4 separate regions of the Homo sapiens genome follow, and regions 2, 3 and 4 are each linked to region 1. Evidence: promoter capture Hi-C in 16 types of primary human blood cells and fetal thymus (Javierre and others, 2016). All regions are on one chromosome and are shown on one strand. Each heading gives the region's core, a stretch centred on a gene start or on the middle of the fragment in contact. The rest is flanking DNA. Distances are from core to core; before and after follow the strand shown.

Evidence for each region. The method cuts DNA at HindIII sites, captures the fragments that hold promoters and counts their contacts. A CHiCAGO score of 5 or more calls a contact.
Region 2: a fragment that was not itself captured here is called in contact with the fragment with the promoter of PF4V1 in region 1 in 1 of 17 cell types (neutrophils); the score reaches 5.5 in neutrophils.
Region 3: a contact is called between a fragment that was not itself captured here and the fragment with the promoter of PF4V1 in region 1, in 1 of 17 cell types (neutrophils). The highest score is 11.1, in neutrophils.
Region 4: a contact is called between a fragment that was not itself captured here and the fragment with the promoter of PF4V1 in region 1, in 2 of 17 cell types (neutrophils and M1 macrophages). The highest score is 17.7, in neutrophils.

The regions. Positions count from the first base shown.
Region 1 is chr4:73,851,114-73,856,741 of GRCh38, reverse strand. It overlaps PF4V1 (platelet factor 4 variant 1), which reads right to left and starts at 3,446. Exons shown (of 3, transcript NM_002620.4): 1 at 3,280-3,446; 2 at 2,833-2,959; 3 at 2,259-2,707. The coding sequence starts at 3,379. The coding sequence ends at 2,620. The HindIII fragment of the contact is 5,836 bases long and covers 1-5,628 here.
Region 2 is chr4:73,966,847-73,972,474 of GRCh38, reverse strand. No RefSeq gene overlaps it. Among named protein-coding and RNA genes, the nearest start is that of PF4, 12 kb to the left of the region's middle. RefSeq lists an enhancer at 4,096-4,597. The HindIII fragment of the contact is 522 bases long and covers 2,786-3,307 here.
Region 3 is chr4:73,749,133-73,754,760 of GRCh38, reverse strand. No RefSeq gene overlaps it. Among named protein-coding and RNA genes, the nearest start is that of CXCL8, 11 kb to the right of the region's middle. The HindIII fragment of the contact is 9,638 bases long and covers 1-5,628 here.
Region 4 is chr4:73,768,292-73,773,919 of GRCh38, reverse strand. No RefSeq gene overlaps it. Among named protein-coding and RNA genes, the nearest start is that of CXCL8, 31 kb to the right of the region's middle. The HindIII fragment of the contact is 2,775 bases long and covers 1,668-4,442 here.

The DNA of each region.
Region 1 (5,628 bases), core at 2,197-4,696:
GGCACCAGCATTCCAGGATTGTTTGACTTGGCAAAATTTGTTTTGCTCTTTTGACCCTTTAAAAGTCACATCAACAAATTATTAAATAAAGCTAAGTATGCTGTTTGAGACAGGCAACAAAAAGGAAAGCAGCAAAAACAAAATCACACCACACACATCTGATTTCCAGTATTTTCTCCTTCAAAGTTCATTTGTTTTGAGCAATTTCATTGCTATTGCAATTTTTTTTGCTACCTATTACAAAAAAAAAAACAACCCTCTGTTAAATTCCTTACTCAGGCCAGGCGCAGTGGCTCATGCTTGTAATCCAAGCACTTTGGGAGGCTGAGGCCGGTGGATCACTTGAGGCCAGGAGTTTGAGACCAACCTGTCTCTACTAAAAATAGAAAAATTAGCTGGGCTTGGTGGCACTTGCCTATAATCCCAGCTACACAGGAGGCTGAGGCATGAGAATCACTTGAACCTGGGTGGCAGAGGTTGCTGGACAACAGAGTGAGACACTGTCTTACAAAAAAATAAAAAATAAAAAATTCTTACTCAACACTCCAGACTAACTGGAATGGTACATTAAGAGAAATATTGATACCGGTAATATAATACTATAATACAATTAATCGTTGTTAATTTTTAAGCTCAGACTGTATATAAGGAACTGTGCCAAATGTTTTGCATGCATCCTCTGTTTAGTCCTTAAGATAATCAATCCATAAAGTTAGACACTCATAATGTCCTCATTTCACACATATGAAAACTAAGGCACAGAGGGAAAGTGAGTGTAGCGCAGCCTGGGATGCCAGGTTAAGGACTTCGGATCTTGAATATTTTATTCAGGGAAATGAAATATTTGGGTTTTGGAAAGATAGTTTGGGTGGTAGTACATTAAGTTATACTGAAGATAAAAAACACTAAGTGGGCAAAAACTGGTTGGGAGACCCTTGTTCATTCTCTCTCCCCATAGATACTCCAACCCTGCAGTGCTATGAACTGTTGTACAAACATGCAAATGACTTAAAATGATCTTGTGTCTTTCTACTTGTTATTTATCTTGAGGCAGTTCCAGTCTTCCCATTGCCCGCCTGCCCCCCCCCGCCAACAAATTCCTACTCCACCTTCAACAGCTAGTTCATGGAATTCGCTAACATGCCACTTTCCTGTGTGAAAGACAGCACAATGTGAAAGCAAGAGCAGGAAGTAGGGAGTCAGAATGATCTGCTCAGCCTCTGAACAAGCTGCGTCCTTCCCAAGACTGTCACCTCATCTCTATAATAGGAATAATACTAATTTGCAATGTGGATGTGGAAATTTTAGATGATATTCACAAGTCTCTGTAAATTTTGTTTATTTTAATCAATTTGTCATCCTAGGTACCTCCCTCCCTTCCAGCCCACCACAGAGATTGAACTGTACCATCTGTATTTTATCATAGATCTTAATCCTATCTGTACACATTGTCACATTAGGTTAAAATTGCACTAGCTCATGAACAAGGGTCTGTAGCTTTCTCCTGCCTCAAGTAGGTCTTGCCTTCTGGTCCATGGTGGTAGGCTGAATAATGCCCCCCACCCCTGAGATCCTTGTGTTCTACTCTCTGGACACTATGAATGTGTTGCTTAACATGGCAAAAAAAAAAAAAAAATATATATATATATATATATATATATATATATATATATATATATATATATCTTTGCAGATGTATTAGAGAACTTGAGTTGGAAAGCGTTTCTGAATTATCCAAGTGAGCCCAATGTATTCACACGCCTCCTTATGAGAGGTAAGCCGGATATAAAAGGTAGAAGAGTCAGCAGAGACAGAGGAGAAGTAGAGGTTGGTGTGATGCAGGTTGAAGACTGGAGAAAGGGCTATGAGGCAAGGAATGCTGGTGAAAAAGGAGAGGAAGTAGATTCTCTTCTAGAGCCTTCAGAAGGAATACAGCTCTGAGGACAGCTTGAGTTTAACCTTTAAGACTTACTTTGGACTTGAGACCCCTAGAATTACAAGACGATAAATTTGTGTTGGTTAAGCCACTGAGTTTGTGGTAATTTCTTACAGAAGCAACAGGAAACTAATATGCCCACATTATAACACCTTCATTTCTCCCCAGTGTAGAGCAATGTCTTCCTAAAGGATGAATGAAAATATTACCTCACACTTCTCTTAGTTCCCAGAATCTTAATATCACCAATGTTAAGGAATTTGTGGGGATAAAAGCAGAGTGTTGCTTATTTACTTCATTGAAAAAAAAAAAAGCTGTCGAGTAATGCTTAAGAGCTACTAATATTTATTGGCAAGCTAATTGTAACATTCAAGGTAAATATGTAGCTATAAAGTACTGCAATCACATAAATGAACAAATATGTATCAGCTAACATATAACACTGAACAAAATCAGTCTTTATTAAACCAAGCCTTCCTTCATAATGCTTTTTGCTTAAAATTCTGGAAATTTTAAAATATGAAATTGTGATGTGTCAGCATTATTTTTGCAGTATTATTAAGAAATAGATTGACTATACCACAACTTGATTTATTTCGTTAATATAATATAAGAAGGATAATACAAACATCAGAAGATTCTTTCACAGTTAGATTGAAAGTGCACACTTAGGCAGCTAGTAGCTAACTCTCCAAATGTTCCTTAATGATTTTCTTGTACAGCAGGGCTTGCAGATCCAAGCAAATTTTCCTCCCATTCTTCAGCGTGGCTCTGGCAGGGAAAAGAGAAGAGACGTGACTTTCAGTCCTTGGGTTTGCAAATGGCATTAGAAGGGGGAGGGATGGGCAGAGGAGGCACGGAGCGGGAGCACTAACTGATGCAGTGCGAGGACTCACATGAGTTGGGCAGTGGGGCAGTGGGGTCCGGCCTTGATCACCTCCAGGCTGGTGATGTGCCTGGGACGGACCTGGGAGGTGGTCTTCACACACAGGCACTGCAGGTCCCCATCTTCTTCAGCTTCAGCTGAGGGGGAAAGGGAGGGAGTAAGAGAGGAGGAGGGGTGGGAGTTGTGACTCCCTGAGTAGCCAGAGATACTTTAGGGACCTTTTCCACTACCTTCAGCTTTCTTTTCCTTAGCCGTAAATCAGACCTCTCTCAGACAGAGGTTGTGCTGATCAGGTGGCGAGGTGCACGTGCAGTGCCTGGCACTGTACCCGCAGACTCAGCACGCGCGCAATAAGAGCAGCTGCGATCATGATCCTAGAGGATTCCTCCCCAGCCCCAGGGCTTCCCGGACTCCCCCTCGCCGCTGCTGGCCCTCCCAGCCTGGTTTCTGCTCTCACCTCTGGCGAAGGCGACCACAACTGGCAGGAGCAGCAACGCCAAGAACAGCATCTCCTGGCGGGTGGCGCGGGTGAGGCGGGACCTGGCTGCGGAGCTCATGTTGCAGCTGAGGTTCCAGCAGGATCCCAGTGCGCAGGGAAAGTCGGGCTGGGGTTCTGCAGGCAGTGACTCCTGGCCTCACCAGGCTTCTTTTATCCCCCGTCACTGTCCCACTGTCCTTCCAGTCCGGAAGCCTGGGGTGGACAGCGAGGAACTGTGGTGCAGGAGCTAAGACACTGCTATGAAGACTCAGACTCTGGCCAGCCAAGATTACAAAACAAAAGGCTGGGGGCAGCTGCCTTGGCTAGGAGGTGGTACAAAGATGCATACCTCCAACCTCAGTTTATATACACTTACATTTGTGGAGTTAGAAACACTACTTGCATCTTAGAAGAGAAATATTTTCTGTGTTGTATCATAGTAGAGTTCTCTGTAGTCACCAAGCAACTTACACAGCAGGTGGCTTCAGGACCCAGACAGTTCTTGTTTCCTTCTCAACTCAAGAACTGCCCATATGCTCCTAACTTCAGTCTTGATTACCATTGAGTTTGATGGCTGTGTGTTTGAAGAGTGTGCTATTTGCAATTGTTTTCTAATACTAATAAGTTTAATTTGGTCTCTAGGTGATGACTCTTCTGAATTTCACCTGAATGTGGAAAACTTCCCTAGTCTCTGGATGAGATTTACCAGGCTCCACCAACAATCACCCAGTATACTGTAGGATGCAAGATCTATTTCCCGTTACTCTTAGAAAAATTGCAGAAGTAATATTTGAATGCATTATTTTTATAAAAACTTAGCTCCTGGATGTTTCTTCATTGTTTCAATCCTGAATAATAGTCCAGAAGAGAGGACAAGGAGAGTTTGCCAGGCCATGTCTTCCAGAGCCTGCTGTGTCCTCAGTCACTGCCAGTGACAGGGTGAGATGGGCTGCACTGTTGGCAGGGAGCAGTGATGCTCTCTGTGGGAGGATTCAGGGCATCTGGGAGTTGGGTGTGAGAATGATGGGAGGTGACAGTGAAGGGGATGCAACAGAATCCCACACGGGAAAGGGGAAGAGATCCATATCGACCGTTTTCTCTTCTCTAAAAAAGAATGACTTTGGCTCTTGATCAGGGCAAGGTACACCCTCAACCCAAAGCCCAAGGTTCCCTGTCACTCTGACTAACAGTGGTGAAGGGTGTCAGGGACCCACTGGATGGAACTAGCTGATATTCTAATGCTCAGCAAACCTGCATTTTTGTAGGAATATGCAATTCTTTCTCCTACTCTCCCTACACCTGCCTATTCAGCTGGCTAAGACCTATTCATATTTCTGGTGTCAGCTTAAATATCACTTCCTCAGGTGTGCCTTCCCTGACAGCTATATATAATTGTGTTCCCTTGTTGTTCTATCTTGCAGAACTCTGTTCTTCGTATTTCTCACAGAATACACAAACATACACACACATATATTGTAGATATATATATATATATGTGTGTGTATGTGTATCTGTGTATTTAAAAGTGTTTAAAATTGTTTTGTTTCTTAAATGGAAAACACTGTGACATTAGATATCATAACGTTTATCACTATTTCAATGTACTGGTAGGGACTCAGTGCAAAGTAGCTACAGTAGTGAAGATAATGTGTTGAAAATGATGATGATGAGGCTTTGACGTGTTCCTATGTCTATTCAATTGGAGCAATTAGAGCATATAATTGGAACATACATCTATATTGACACGTGTCACATATGGTCAAAATTATTTGTCCACTTGTCTGCCTCTCCCACAAGATAGTGATCTCTTCAATAGCAATTCTCTGTGACTTATGTGCAGTCACCCACCACATAACAACGTTTTGGGCAGTAATAGACTGTATAAGTGATGATGATCCCATAAGACTATAGTGGAGCTAAAAAATTCCTATTGCCTTGTGATACCATAGCTGTTGTAAAATCATAGCAAGCCAATGTATTATTCATGTGTTTGTGGTAATGCTGGTGTAAACAAACTTACTGTGCTTCCAGTTGCATAAAAGTATATGACATACAAGTATGTACAGTACATAAAAATGGATAATTATAATAAACAACACTGTTTCTGGTTTGTGTATTTACTATATTATACTCTTTAATCATTATTTTAGAGTGAACTCCTTCTCCTGCTAATGGAAGAAGAGTTAACTATGAATCAGCCTCTGGAAGGCCCTTCAGAAAATATTCCAGAAAAAGACATTGTTATTTTAGAAGATGACCACTCCATATGTCTTATTGCCCATGAGATAAGAAATGAATGTGGAAGAAAGTGATTGATGATTCTGACCT
Region 2 (5,628 bases), core at 1,797-4,296, 120 kb before region 1:
AATTCTGCTGTGAGTCTGTTGGGTCCTGACTTTTTTTGATTGGTTGACTTTTTATTACTGATTTGATTTTGAAACTTATTATTGGCCTGTTTAGGGATTAAAATCTTTCCTGGTTTAGTCTTGGGAGGGTGTATGTGTCCAGGAATTTATCCATTTCTTCTAGATTTTCTAGTTTGTATGCATAGAGGTGTTCATAGCAGTGTTTGATTTTTCTTTCTGTATTTCTGCAGGGTCAGTGGTAATGTACCCTTTGTTAACTCTAATTGTGTTTATTTGGGTCTCCTATCTTTTCTTCTTTATTACTCTACCTAGTGGTGTATCTATTTTATTAGTTTTCAAAAAAACAACTTCTAGATTTCTTGATCTATTGTATGGTTTTCTGTGTCTCAGTTTCTTTCAGGTCAGCTTTAATTTTGGTTATTTCTTGTCTTCTGCTAGCTCTGGGGTTGATTTGCTCTCGCCTCTGTATTTCTTCTAGCTGCAATGTTAGGTTGCTAATTTGAGATCTTTCTAACTTTTTGATGTAGGCATTTACTGCTATAAATTTCCCTCTTAATACTGCCTTAGCTGTGCCCCAGATATTCTGGTATGTTTTATTTTTGTTTTCATTACTATTAAAGAACTTCTTGATTTCTGCTTCAGTTTCATTATTTACTCCAAAGTCATTCAGGAGCAGATTGTTTAATTTCCATGTAATTTTCTGATTTAGAGTGACTTTCTTTGTATTGATTTCTATTTTTACTGTGCCATTGGCTGAGAAATGTGGTTGGTATTATTTCAATTTTTTAAAATATTTGAGGATTGTTTTATGTCTGATTGTGTAGTTGATTTTAGAGTATGTGCCATGTGGCAATGAAAAGAATATATATTCTGTTGTTTTGGGTGAAGAGTTTTATAGATGTCTATTTAGTCTCTTTGGTCAAGAATTGAGTTCAGCTCCTAAATATGTTTGTCGATTTTCTTCCTCAATGTTCTAAAACTGTAAGTGGATTGTTGAAGTCTCCCACTATTATTGTGTGACAATATAGGTCACCTTTTGGGTCTCCAAGAACTTTATCAATCTGGGTGGTCTTGTGTTGGGTGCATACGTATTTAGGACAGTTACATGTTCTTGTTGAATTGAATCTTTTACCATTATGTATACCCTTCTTTGTCTTTTTAATTCTTGTTGGTTGAAATTCTATTTTGTCTGAAATTAGGATTACTATCCCTGCTTTTTTCTGTTTTCAATTTGCTTGGTAGATTTTTCTTCATGCCTTTATTTTGCACCTATGTGTGTCACTGCATGTGAGATGTGTCTCTTGAAGACAGCATACCAATACATCTTGGTTTTTTAACCAGTTTGCCATTCTGGGCCTTTTAATTGGGGCATTTAGCTCATTTACATTCAAAGTTAGTGTTAATATGTATGGATTTGATCCTGTCACCATGTTTTCAGCTGGTTATTTTGCAGACTTGTGTGCTTGCTTTATAGTGTCACTGGTCTGTGTACTTAAGTGTGTTTTTGTAGTGGCTAGTAAGAGTATTTTCTTTCCATATTTAGAGCATCTTTCAGGACCTCTTCTAAGGCAGGCCTGGTGGTAATGAATTTCCTCAACATTGCTTCTCTGAAAAGGATTCTATTTCTCCTTCACTTATGAAGATTATTTTAGTTGGATATGAAATTCTTGGTTGGAAATTTTTTCTTTAAGAATGTTGAATATAGGTTCCCAATCTCTTCTGGCTTGTAGAGTTTCTGCTGAAAGGTCCACTGTTAGCCTGATGGAGTTCTCTTTGTAGGTGACCGTACCTTTCTCTCTATCTGCCTTTGACATTTTTTTCTTTTATTTTGATACTAGAGAATCTCAAGATTATGTGTTTTCCAAGTTGCTTGCTTTCTCTCTGGCTCTTTCAGGGACACCAATAAGTCATAGATTTGGTCTCTTCATATTATTCTATGTTGCTCTGATATTTTGTTCATTCTTTTTTATTGTTTTTGCTTTATTTCTGGCTGACTGAGTTATTTCAGAGTCAACCTGCAAGCTCTGAGATTTTTTTCCTCCACTTGATCTATTCTGCTGCTAATACTTGTGACTGTATTACAAAATTCTTGTAGTGTATTTTTCAGCTCTATCAGATGTTTTTTAAAAATATGATTTAATCTATTAGCTCCTGTATTATTTTATTGTGATTGTTAGATTTTTTGTATTGAATTATTTAATGGTCTCCCAAATCTCGATGATCTTCATTCCTATCCATAATCTGAATTCTATTTTTGTCATTTCAGCTATTTCAGCCCAGTTAAGAATCCTTGCTCAGAAACTAGTATAGCCATTTTCAGGGAATAAGACACTCTGGCTTTGTGATTTGCTAGAGTTCTTTTATTTGTTCTTTCTCATCTGTGTGGATGGGTTTACCTTTAACTGTGGTATAAATTGAAGACCACCAGTAGACTTCTTTTTTAGATGCTTTCAGAGGGCCAAAGCTTTTTGCAGGGTCCTTATTTTTAGCTGAATTCTTGTCATTGATATCACAGAAGGGTATATTAACAAATTATTTTTGGTGTTGAAATTTTGGGCTGCAATCCAGTAGGTGGTACTTAAGTGTAATGGCCAGTAGGCAAGCTTTTGCTCAGTCACATGGCTTCTCTGTATTTCTTCATGACTATAGCCATGCTCCTTCTCAGCACTCTGAAAGTAAGAGTTCCTCTCTCACTTCAGTGCTGGCTGAAGATGTCAATTTAACACTGCTGGGCTGTGTATCTCAGCTCTGGGGCAATGTCAGGCTTTATGTTCCCTCCCAAGCTTAGAGGTAACAGGGGAAAGGAACTTTGCAGTGGTTGTGATAGAGAGTCTTTCACTTATCTTTTGGGGCTCCATCTTGAGAGGTGTGGAGCTGCTATCAGTCAGTGTGATCAACTTGGGTTGCGGCAGCTGTCCTGTGAGCCCAAGCCAGGGAGGCATACCTTGTGACAAGTGAGTGGCGGGGAAAGAGGGCAGACAGACCAGTAACCTCTCCATAGGGCAATTAATGCTTGCTCAAGGTGCAGTTGAAGCACTAAGGGTCTTTGCTCATTCCCCAGGGCAAGGGCAGAAAGGGCAGTACCACTGCAGTGGCAGTGGTAGAGGGGTTTTCAGTAGCCTCTGGGAACTCTACCTCTGAGAACCATATAGCCACAGTTCCTGGGAATGTTCAGCCAGGGGTTGAGGTGGCTGCACTGGTAGCCTGAGCTGAGGACCCCTCCTAGTTGGGGACTTGGGGGTTGAGGGTTTACAGGGAGGAGAGACTGGCTTCCTCTCTGTATAGTGACTATGGTGTGCTGTAAGCTTGGGTGAAGCCCTCAGGCTCAGTTTCTTCCCCAGCCTGTGAACAGAAGAGACAGAACATTGTTGTGACAGTGGCAGAAAGGAACATTGATTGCCTCTTGGAGCCCCTTCCCAGGAAATTCAGAGCCACTACCAGTGGGTATTCTCAGCTGTTTGTGGGGCATCTAAACTGTGGACCTGAGCAGGGGCCCTGCCTGCTGAAGAGTGGGTGCTGGGGGCTCACAGGGAAGGTAGACTGAACTCCTCTCTGTATGGTGGCTGTGGAGTGCTTGGGTGCCAGTGAAGTGACTAGGCCCTTTGTTCCTTCCTCAGCCGAAAGGTGGTTAGGGCAGTACTACTGCAGCTGCAATGGCCAAGAGGTTGTGGGTTGACTCTGAGATTTCCTCCTCAGAGAAATGCTGAGCTGCCCCCAACTGAAGTGTTCAAGTGGGGGCAGGGTGGTTGTGCTGGAGTCCAAGGTTAGGAGGCCTCACCAACTAAGGAGAAGTTGGGATGAGAACCTGCATGTAAAACAGTCTGGCCACTTTTTGATGAAGCAGCTGCACTGTGCTAGGGTTACATGTTAGTCCCTCGTCACCACATACTCTCCAGAGCCTGAAGGCAACAATAGTGAGGGCTGTGAGAAAGCAAAGATGGCAGCCTACCACTCCCTTTAGGGGCTCTGTGTCATGGAAATGCAGAGCTGCTACCAACCTGAGAGCCCTGATGGGAAGTGGTTGGAGTCCCAGGTTGGGAGCTCCCATCCACTGAGGAGAAATGTGGGATCCACATAAAAAAAAGAGTCTGGCCATTTTTCTGTGGGACAGCTGTGCTGTGCTGGGGGTTTGTGCCAGTCCCTAGTCACTGTAGGCTCTCCAGAGCCTGAAGGCAACAACAGTGAGGGCTGCAAGGCAGGAAAGTTGCTGCCCCCTTGCCCTGGAGATCTGTCCTGGGGAAGTGCAGAGCTGCTACTAGCCTCATAACCCCAGTGGTGGGAGGCTGGAGTCCTAGACCAATGGGTCTCATCCTGTGAGGTGCAGTGTAAGTGAAGCCTGTAGACAGTTGCTGCTCAACCCCCTGGATTTGGCTCCTTTCCTGGATGTGTGTAAAGGAGACTAACTTCCCCCTTTGCCAGAGCTGAAGCCACTAATGCTGGAATGCCTGGGGATCAAAGGCTTTTGGGACTTTGGCTATGCCTCAGCAGTGGCTCTGCTGAGACTCCCATAGCTTTGCATATCAGTCTGAAGGTTTTTGTGGGATGAGCTCACAAGGGCATCTCCTGAGACCAGGGCTTGCAAAGATCTATGGACCAAGTGTGTGTCCCAGGGTTTCTCATTCTCTCACCATTTCCCAGTGGTCGGGGAGCCTCCTCTGGCTCCATGCCACTGTCAGGTAGGCATTAATCTATTCTTGCTCCTCTGTGTTCTCCTTGGGTTGAGTTGTTTGTTTGATGAATCCCTGGGTTTGTGCCCACCTGGGTGTTTCAATTGAAGATGTAGTATTTATTCACCACTTTTTCTTCTCTTTGTGAAAGTAGTGCACACTAACTGCTTCCAGTCAGCCATTTTGGCCATCATGTAAACTAAAACTTTTTAAAAATATTTTCGCTCCCTCTTAACATTGAGAAATGGCAGATTAACTGAATGGATTTGATCTCCTTGACAGGCAATACTGTCATAGATGTGAATTCTATATCCATTCACCTAAGTACATCTGTGGTTTTTTAGATCCCTTTAAAATTAGAGAGAAAAAAGAAAGTAAACAAGACTCATGGAGACCTGACATCTCACAGTAATACTGTGGATTATTTCAATTACTGCACTTCTAAACTCTATGTATTATACTTATTCTTCATTCTGAGTGTTGAAATGATGACTCAATCTTCATTTACGAACAATAAAAGAAAGATATGATGGAATATGAATATGGTTGCAGGACAATATTCAGTCACAAAACATTTACAACAGCAAGTTAAAAGCATTATATTTTTATGTGTCAGGGCATGTGGACATTTTGTTGGTGTAGGGGTTTGTCCTCACATAAATTATTAAGCTATTTCATCAGTTATAAACATCTTATGACCATGGGTCATGACTGGCAAAGAATGTGCCTTGCTAGTATCAGGGCACCTGGACATTTTCTTGTTGTAGAAGTTTGTCCTTACAGCATTATTAACCTCCTTCATCAGTCATAAACATCTTATGACCATTGGTCATGTCCGACAAAGAATTTGCCTTGCTAATTTTAAGGTGGAGTTGATTTTAAAATGGTGTGACCCTGGGTCTCCTATGCTTCCCAAACAAATCATCAACAACAATGTATAAGAGATAAATAAAGGATCAAA
Region 3 (5,628 bases), core at 1,724-4,223, 100 kb after region 1:
TATTTTCTGGCGCTAGAAGATGTTCATGGATCATCTTGTAGATTTCTTGCCTCAGTCCTACACTCAGCTACACTCATTTCTTCAAAGGTCCCTCATTCATTCATTTCATTGGAAAATGATTTTAGATACCAAGATTTGGGTTCTAGTTGTGCTTGTTGCTACTGGAGTGCTATTACTTCTAAGCCCTCTCAGATAACAAAGGAAAGAAATATATGTGTGCATACTAACCCAACTATATACACATATCTACAAATATTTCTATATGTATCCACCTGTATCTATATTAAGCTAACCATGAATTCATACTGATGTGTCCAACTCTAATTCATTACTCAAATCATTTTATCTTCCCCTCCTTGCTTATCTGAAAATGCTTAGAGTAACAGTGAGAAACCTGGCTCCTACCATTAGCCATCAATTATTCAATTAAAATGTTTAGAATACATGTATAGCAGCATCAGAATTGTGAACCCATAATACGTTTACATGCCATAGATTTTTCAGGAGTCAAATATTCAAAAGTTAAATCTTTAAAAGCTAATGTACTATGTTACATGGAAATCAAGTGCAAAAATGGCATTTATTCTATTCCCAATACATACCACATGGAGTACACCACATTTAAAATCAGAGTCATGTAGTTTTTCTCACTGTAAAGTGAGGGGTCAGAAAACCTATCACACTGTGCATGGTAAATACATACGATTTTATATCTCAATTAAAAATATATGAATAAACACAAGGTTTTAAAAGATTTAGATAATAGGAAGGATATAGATGGAAACACATATAAACAGTTTGTATAGAATCTATGTGACATTACATGTGAAAGATATAACAAATTTTACTCAGTACATATTACTACTAACTCTTCTCTCCATTTTGAGATAAGGAAAAATGAGACAATTTTAGTTAACTAGGAGATTAGAAAGATTATTTTGGGAAGAAGTTTAGTGCTAGAAAAGGGACTTAGAAGTAGAAGTCATAGTCCTTTTCATAGCCGCACAGAAGCCTCTAAAACTAACCCACAACATAAGATGGATAAGATGGGTCAGGAAGATAGAAAAAGAAAGAAAATGCTAAGATTTTCCTCTCTCTTCAGAATAAAGCATTATATTTTACAAATGTCCTTCACCAACTCTAAGGCTCATTTAAGATTTACAAAAAGATCTTGGAATATGATATTTTTTAATATTCAGAAATTTTTCAATGAGCTCAATAATAACAAAATATTTCTTGTTTCCTAAACAAGAAAGTTTAGGAATGAGTTTTTCACAAAACATGACTAGCACATACTAAGGAAAATAAAACAAGTTGGGGAGAAGGATGATTCACCTACGTCATAGCAGAGCTGCTGGAGACCTGCAGAGAGGTGACTAGAAATGAGTTGTCTCTTTAATAACATGTTTCAAAATGGGATTCCTGTAAGAGGCATGGTGGATACCTTTGGAAGCATATAGAAAAAATAAATCTAAGCAGAAGTATCTACTTATAGAATAGTTTCCCCACAAATGCTTCATTTAGAGGAACACTAAAAATGAAAGTGTAAAGGCAAAGTAGCATGCAGTAAGTGGCAGATTAAATTAGGATCTAATTAGTGATCCTAATTTAGGATCTATTTAGATAGTGGAATCATATCACAACATGATTAAAATGTAAGGTAAACTATCCCCTATGAAATACAATTGCTTGATACCTTAAGTTTATTCTCATCTGTTGCACTATAATCTTTTACAAAGTTATTGGAACATTCATCCAGATACATCTGAAACAAACTTTGGGTGGAAACTTCTGTGAATGTTTTCATATCTTTGTTTTTCATCAAGAGATACCTTTGTGTATCTATTTAATTTAATTTTTATGGAATGCAAAGTACATAGAAATCCCTCTTTCTCCATTCATTGTAAGAGCTGGATTCTTTGACTTAAGTAATCATTTAGAGGATTCTTGATTTTCTGTTTTGAAAATCTTGTGAGATGGAATTGTCGATTTACTCTGATGCATTGGAAAAGTTTCTATCTGTTGTCTGTGTTTTCAGCAAACTCAGCTGATGGTTACCAAACTTGAGACAATTGCTATCTGGACGTCTTTTAAAGTGAATAATGGAGAAATGACTGGTTTCTTAGACTTTTTGTTGTTATTGCAGAGTTAGTACATTCTTACGCAATTTTCACTTGCTGTATTATTATCACAAGCCAAAAGCAAAATAATTTTTTATCCTTCTCAAGTTTTGAAATATAAACTGAATGTAAAAATAGGTGTATTGTAATAAAAAATTATTACTTATTTAACAAAATCTTGAAAATAAAATATTTTTGCCTAGGTACTTCAACTGATGAATCTATTTCTGGATGCATTTCTAGCAAAACAAATGTCATTTATGAAAATTCTTGATTTTGTATGTTGTATGTACAACATATGTATTATGGTATTTTACATGTAATGCAATTTTAGGGTGAACACTTTATTATCTTTATATATCTTTTATTTTGTGTGTTTCTGTATATTTAAATTCATGCTTCTATTCAGTAAAATTAGACAAGTGATTTAAGATCACACAAATGGATCAACGGTATGTGATAATATATCTTTCATGTAGTTTGTTTCTAAGGCTGGGTCTATACAAATAAATACATATTTGTATACATAACTATACATATACAACTATCTATATACATCCTTATATACATTACTATTATCATTGAAGAAAAATAAAGCAAAAAATGTTAATTCAGCAAATTGCTTGACCTTTCTCTCTCACTCACATGCTCACATTCTCCCTCTCTTTTTCATTTTTCCTTTTTTTGGCTTATTTACATGATGGCACATTTTCAATTTGACCTACTTGATTGCCTTTTAGATGGAATACTTCACTGTCTTGTAGACAGTGACAATATAGATGAGAAAGTAAAGAAATAATCTGGCATATTTTAAAGGTGATAAAGATGGAATTGAGAGGTAGTGCTTAAAAGTATTCATTATTAAGATACACTGAATTGGTACAGATATTCTCATTTTGCTTTTAGGGTTGGATACTGATGATATTAATATGATGTTAAAACCTCACATTAAGAGGTTTTGTTTAGAGTCAGAAGTTAGTTCTTTGATTCAATCTCCAAATGGCACGAAGAAGTTTCTAAGATTAAGCACTTTAGGTTGCTTTTGTGGCCTCCCACTTCCATCTGGAAACACCTCGGAGGAAGAATGGCATGTAGTGTTCACAACTCAAAATTAGGCAAATTGGAGTGCACTAGAAGTTTTCCATTCTAACTCTAAGCCCTTTAGAGCAATGTATTGTCTATTGTCTTAGCTTTAGCTGTTAGCACTTGTTCTGTTTCACGCCAAACTCTAGTCATACTGAAATTCTTTCACTTCTTAAATCATATCAAGCTCTTGCCTACACATTACTTTTTCTCACTGTCTAGACTCCTTTCCTACACATTCTTCTTCCCTTTGTGTGGCTAACTCCTACTCATGCTTCAGACTCTAAACGTTCTCATGGAAATCTAGGCTAGTTAGATTAGATAACCCCTGCTTGCCTGCTTCCAAATGTTAACCAAAGACCATGAGATCTGTAGAGGGAAAGGAGTAGAGCTTTATTTTTTATAATTTTTTTAAATCTATAGATTGGGGAGGCATGCTTTTTAGTACAAGTGGAAGTGTGCTTTCTGGATAACAAGGAGAAGGTTCAAGATTTTATGAAATGGGAAAATGTTACATATTGCTCTTTGAGAAATTTCATTAGCACTAGTAAGATTTTAAGGTTCTAGCAAACTCTGATAGGTAAGTGACAGCAGTGGGCAAAACTAGTCAGAGAGTTTGAGCAGCTTTCAGCAGTTAGATCAAACTGGTTTCAGGTTATAGCAGGCAGCTTTAGCTGCCCAGCTTGCAGAGAATTACATCTTTTGAGCAATGTTTTGTGCTGGGTGCTTTCCCCCCACCCCACCCCCTCCCTGGCCTCCCAACTCTGTTTTAGTTGAGTGACAAAAATGATCCAATTCATATGATCAACTTTCATGCAAATAACTTTGGTACATCTCCTAGCAATATTTTATTAAACTTACTTATTTCTATCTGTTTTATTTACTTATCAATGAGATACACAAGATGAGAAACTGAAAAATGGGAGTGGGACAAGGGATCTTGAATGTGAAGAGGAGAATATGGAAACGAAGATTAGGCAGAACCCTGAAGAAAAAGAAGCCCCGCAACATAGCAAGAGAAGAAATATAGGCAGGAAAAAATCCTCTTCTAAAGGGAAACAACGAAGTTGTTTCTAAACAGCGAATACCAGGTAGAATTTTCAGTTGGTTCCTACTGGTGTGTCACTTTTAAATCTTGCATTGATTCTATTATGCTGAATACCTATGTGTTAATATGCACTGGGAGTTATAAAAGAGACCAGAGAGATAATAGCAACTATAGGTACCCAGAGCAATTGTTAAGAAGCTAAATGACATAGGAAAAGCAGGTTGCAATGTGAACTAACTAGTGAGAAAATAAGAGAAGACTTTCTTCCTCACTCTAAATGTCCTATAGCATATTTTCTAAATACGAAAGAAAGAGGGAACCCTTTGTGACTTCAGATCATCTGGAATATGCAAACCTGATTAATGAAAGTATCTCAGCCTATGTCTTCCTTGCAGTCTTTAGATGTCTTACTAATACCAGTGTTTTCACATAGATTGATTGGCTTTGAATCAATTCAATAAGCCACCTCGTCTAACTCTTCCCGTCAAGGCTAACAGCTATAATTTTCTCTAAAGGCTACTGGGAATGAGACCCCAATGCTTTAATAAGAGTGTGTCTCAACTTGTTCTTCTTCAAAGATGTCTCAGATATTCTTGAACCTTTCACTTCAAGACAAATTTTAAAATCGTCTTGACAAATTACATACATAGATTTTGGAAATTATATTAGAACTTCATTGGATCTGTAAATTAATTGGGAAATAAGTGACATCTGTTTTACAAGATTTATTTCCAATTCATGCAACATGTTATATTTACCTTATTTTTAGGTTTCCTTTGATGACTTTTTTTGTAACTTTTATTTTAGGTTCCAGGGGATGTGGGCAGGTTTGTTACATAGGTGAACTCCTGTCATGGGGGTTTGTTAGACAGATTATTTCATCACCCAGGTATTAAGCCTAGTACCTAATAATTACCTTTTCTGCTCCTCTCCCTCCTCCCACCCTCCACCCTCTGTCTACTCTGTTGATAGTTTCTCTTGCTGCACAGAAGCTCTTAAGTTTAATTAGATATCGTTTGTCAACATTTGCTTTCGTTGAGATTGCTTTTGTTATCTTTGTCATGAAATCTTTGCCCACTCCTACGTCCAAGATGGTATTGCCTAAGTTGTCTTCTAGGGTTTTTATAGGATGATCTCCAATCTTGGGGATTTAATAAAGTATAATAATATTCTTCACACATTTCTTACACAGCTTTGTTAGATTTATTTCTTGTTGATTTAAATGATGATGCTAGTTTATATAGTATGCTTTAAGCTGCCTTTTCTAATTGTTCCTGGTATACAGAGAAGCAATTTGTTTTTATAAATTGTTTTCATACCCAGCAAAATTGTTTAAAGTTAATCAATTATCTTTATATAATCTTTTGAGTTCTACCT
Region 4 (5,628 bases), core at 1,806-4,305, 82 kb after region 1:
ATATGCAGAAATAATGGCGTAAGCTGTCTTTCTCTTTGTCTCCTCTCTCTCTCTCTGCCTCGGCTGCCAGGCAGGGAAGGGCCCCCTGTCCAGTGGACACGTGACCCACGTGACCTTACCTATCATTGGAGGTGACTCACACTCTTTACCCTGCCCCTTTTGCCTTGTATCCAATAAATAACAGCACAGCCAGACATTCGGGGCCACTACCGGTCTCCGCGCATTGGTGGTAGTGGTCCCCCGGGCCCAGCTGCCTTTTCTTTTATCTCTTTGTCTTGTGTCTTTATTTCTACACTCTCTCGTCGCTGCACATGGGGAGAGACTCACAGACCCTGTGGGGCTGGCCCCTACAGAAGGGCACTTTACCTCTGTGATAATTTTTCCTAAAATCCGTAACTGGGGGGTCAGACAAACCCAAATTGAGAGACGTTCTAGAAAATACCTGACCAATGCTCATCAAAAGTGTCAAGGTCACAATAGACTAAGGAATGAGAAATAAGCCAGGCATGGTGGCCCACACCTGTAATCCCAGTGCTTTGGGAGGCTCAGGTGGGAGAATTGCTTGAGGGCCAGGGGTTCAAGACAAGCCTACGCAACATAATGAGACTCTATTTCACACAAAAAATAAAAAATTAGCCAGGCATGGTAGTGTGCACTTGTAGTCTTATCATCCCTCAGGCAGGAGGATTGTTTCAGCCGAGGAGTTTGAGGCTGCAGTGAACAGAATCATGCCACTGCACTCCAGCCTGAGCAACGAGAGAGACCCTGTTTCCTAAAAAAAAAAGAAGATAGACAGAAAGAGAGATGATATGATATTAGTTTTGATAAATATACCATGATTATAAAAGATGTTAACATTAGACGTTAAGTGAAATGTGTATAAGTGAAGTCTGTACAATTTTTACAACTCTTCTTTAAATCTAATATTATTTTAAAATCAAAATTTAAAAAAAACAAATGCCTACAATACATTATTTTACTATTGTCATAATGAAGCAAGAATTTTTATAAGTAGATAAAAATACATAGATAACACACACTTAGGGAGGTTATATATCTTTATTTCCTGTATGTTTGGGGGCCCAGGATATTAGGAATTAAATTTACTGGGTATATATAATAATCCTTAATACAACATGAATTATCCAGAAAGACGTATCTACTTAAAATATATTTAGCATTTAGTTAGGTTTATTCCAAGTGAAAAGAGAAAATATAGACAATCTTTAATGCATTCTTAACTTTTTCTATATTCTTTCTACAACCCCAATGACCCAGACACATTAAAATTACTTAATTATTGTTTATTCCTGGATGTTAGGGAACTGAAACTTCTTTCAAGTTCTCAAAATATCTCCACATAAATGCTTGTGATATATTGCTTTGTGACTATATTAGTACAAAGTCACAAAAATAAATTCAGGAACTCAGAAAATCTATCCAAATTAACAAAGTATAGACAATTCACAGTGATATAACAATAATTTTTTAAAGCCTGCATAGAAAATTCAAGTGGAATATTTTTAGAGGATCATAAAATTTGCGATATTGTCTGAGATTCATTCTGAGGCACTCGGGTTGAAGACTTTAACATATGAATTTAGGAATAGGGGAAAAGTTTAGCCCCCAGCATAGTCCTTGTAGTAAATTGGTGCTATTTCGAAGCTTTCTAAAAATAGCATAAATTAGTAAAGTTGTACTAACTATTTATATTTCCAAAGTGGAAGACGATTTTGACAAATTAGCAATAAATACATAAGTCAGTGGGGGAAAGTTTTAAGAAACACAGTGTTTTACAACTGTTTCATGAAGAGTCACTCAAGATACCTTAATTATTATTCACTAAGTGATGTGTGTGGAACCAGTGAAGGCTCCTGAGTCAAAGGTCAGAGCTCTCCTCTCTGTGTTCCTGCCATACTGCTTTATTTTTATTTATCCTGTAAGAGCATGGACAACAATGATCCTACACCCTTGTAATACAGCACTTAGCACAGTGTTCACTGTTGGTGTTCAATAAATAGCACTTCTTTACTCTCACCAGGAGTCCCTAAGAAGAATGCATGAATTAATTTGAGGCACATTAACATCAGCTATTCAGACTGCTTCTTATCATGTGGACATGTGAGGTGGTAGAGACAATAATAGCTTGCACTACTGAATTAGATAAAACATATTTTATCAACAAAATGGTACATGCTCACCATTGTTTCTGAACATTTATTGACACACTTCTTTTTTGAGAGGAGTGGGTTCAAGATAAATTTTCTATTCTTGAAAGATAGATGATAGATAATAGATCAACATAGTTGATACATATATCTAAGATACAATATATAATATTTATTATATATCTTGTCTTCTCTATGGCCATACATCCTGAACACACCCAATCTCATCTGATCTCCAAATGTTTAAAAATTATTACATGCCATCATTTTGAGCAACATCCAGGTGATCTTACTGTGTCAAAAAGGGAAGAAAAAGAAATCATAATAAGGAACGGTGCAGACCTGGCTTCACTAAGGTGGAGATGGCCAATGCAAGGACACAGAGAAACCATCTCATGTATATGCCACAAGTAGCAAGGATTCCCAGAAAACGCATGAAGAAATAAAACTATCCTCCCTAATAGTTCTGTCAGCCTACTCATGAAAGCATGTCTTTTGGTAGTGAAGAAGAATATTTCCCTGACCCTTTCACAGGACTCACAACAGAGGTGCCTCATTTACTCAGTCAGCAGCTTTCAACTCTTGTGGGAGGGAGCACGCTATCAAATGAGGCAGGAACTGGATTGCATGAGCCCTGGAACCAGCTGGCTGCTTTGGTGCCAGCAGGAGCAAACTCCACTCACTTGCACCTGCTGTGTTCCACCCCTTTCAGGAGGGAGTGCACAGGTGAGCGAGTGCAGGAGCCAGGGCAAGCACATTTAGGCACTGGCAGGAGCAAACTCCATGTGGGCTTTGCAGCAGCATCAATGGGATGGTGCCTGTGACCCCTGAAGTCCCAGAGGACATGTTACAGTATTCTTTTAGCTCTCCCATCCACAGACAGCTAAAATGTTAATAGTTCAGTGGGACTTCTTTCTTTTCATGTGAGGTGGCTGCCTTCTGCCAGCGAGGGAAAAGGGCCAGTATGAAGCCTTTTGTATTCACACTTGTGGCTCCCAAGCTGTTGTCAGGTGTCCACGGAAAATGATGTCGCATGAATGATTTAAAGGATGGTAAATGTGGGAGATTTTATTGCCAATGAAAGTGGCTCTCAGTGGGAAAGAGAGCTGAAAAGGGGAAGTAATCTTCCCCTGAAGTCCAGCCATGTTCAGCAGGATTCTTCTCCAAAGTTACGTGGTCAAGCCATCCCTCTGAAGTCAAGCCACTTCTCTCCAATGTCTAGCTGTAGTCCCCAAGGTCCAGCTGCTTCTTCCCTCTGCTGGCTGAGTCTGGAGTCATTATAGGCACAGGATGGGGTGGGGCAGGGTCATGGGTGACTTAGGAAAAGGCAAAGTTCGCATGGGAAAACAGTTCTCACTTTGGCCATGGTCTCGGGCTTTTCAGCTTGAGGATAGGGCTTCACCAGGGACCTGCCCTTTTTTACCTAGAATTTCTCTGCCTCCTTTCCCCATCATTTCCCTTTTCAAAGCGGAACATCTCACTGCCATTAGAATACAGACAATGACCGATCTTAGCTACTTTCTGCTTACTGGGGACACTGTTTTGAAGAAAACAGTGGTCAGATTTCCCTCAGAGGTTTACCTAAGGGCCTCTGGTAAAAGGGAGCCATTGTCCGAGGCTCCAGTTACATGACCCTTTGGAATTTGATCGCCTTTAGGTGAGAAGAAACAAGTTTTACAGGGATAAGTTTGCATGGATCAAATATATGTATTATACAAAACGGGGTTAAAAGGAGATAATCTGGTGACAAAGTTTACAGAAATAAGAAGTAAAATATACTATTCCTTCTAGACACAATATTGTATCCTGCAGTATAGAACAGAATAAAGGTAAAAACAGCGAACATAGGCAAGACTATAAAGAGGATATCCATGGAAGTTTAACACTTATCTTTTGTAATTTTTAGCTTGAGGTCCCCAACCTCTTCATATTGGTACTTTGGGTACTCTTTGGGTTCATCAGCTTCCCAGGCATTTACATGGGTGTAATAAATTCAAGAATCTATTCCAGTGACCTATTGTAAAAGACAGGTGGCTGCTTTCAGGAGGTTCTCTAAAGTACTATCTGGTCCCAGGGCCTGTTTCTGCAGCTTCCTCCTGATCTCAGGGGCTGCCTGAGTAATAAATTTATCCTTTAGGATTAGTTGTCCCTTAACTGAATCAGGAAGTAGAGAGTTGTGCTTCACCAAGGCCTCTTTTAACCTTTCCAGGAGAGCAGTGGGATTCTCATCAAATACCTGGTCTATCATGGATAACTTAGAATAATTGAGAAGCTTAGTTCTAGTCCTACATAATCCCTCCATTATGCACACCTGAATGTGTCTCCTCTTCCATTCTCCCATCTTGTCAGTGAGATCCCATTTAGGGTTATCCAACGGTACTGCTTCTCTTCTAGTTGGATAAAGTTTGACCCCTTCCCTGACACTGTATGTAATAGAAAGCTCATTCCCCAAATCTCTCTGCCACTTGCAGAGTAGCCTGCTTCTCAGTGTTAGTCAGGCTTTGATTCAAAAGTAGCATAACATCTTCCCAGGAGAGTTCAAATACTTGAGTTAAGTTCTGGAAAGCCTCTATACATCTGTCAGCATCATGTGAAAACTTGCCAAGATCCCCCTTAATTGGCCTTAAGTCCTTTAGAGGGAAAGGGACCTGGATCTTACCAGGGACCAAATTCACCAGGCATCTGTTGGAGGGGCAAGAGTGGGACTGGGGCTTATCTAGGGTGAGGATTTCTAGGAGGGAGCAAACAGGAGAGATAAACTGGATAGGGAGGATGGGGTGGACCAAGAGGAGCAGGCAAGAGGGAGCTGGCTCCATTGCTAGAGGGGCCTCTGGGGTTCACCTCTTGTAGCCTTTCTGTGCATTGCAGAAAGGAAAATGATCAGATTATTTGGGGAATACTGGTCACTGGCTCTTAGCTGACATTCATTCCAGGGAACCCAAAATGCCACTGTGGTCCTCCAGTTAAAGTAGGGGCTTATGTAGGTCAGGTAATGTATGGAGTTTTAGCTAATGTCCCACTTCCAGTCAGTCCAATGGGTACCCAGACTCATCCTGTGGTTATTTCCCCAGTGCCAGAATCCATAATTCGCATAGACATACTTAGCAGCTGGTAGAATCCCCACATTGGCTCCCTGACTGGTAGGGTGAGGGTTATTATGGTGGAAAATGAAAGGCAGCTCAAATGGAAGCCATTAGAGCTGCCTCTACCTAAAAAAATAGTAAGTCAAAACAATATTGCATCCCTGAAGAGATTGCAGAGATCAGTGCCACCATGAAGGACTTGAAAGATGCAGATCCCTGTTCAACTCTCCTATTTGGCCCATACAGAAGATAGATAGATCTTGGAGAATGACAGTGGATTACTGTAATCTTAATCAAATGGTGACTTCAATTTCAGCTGCTGTACCAGATGTGGTTTCATTGCTTGAACAAATTAACACACCTCCTGGTACCTGGTA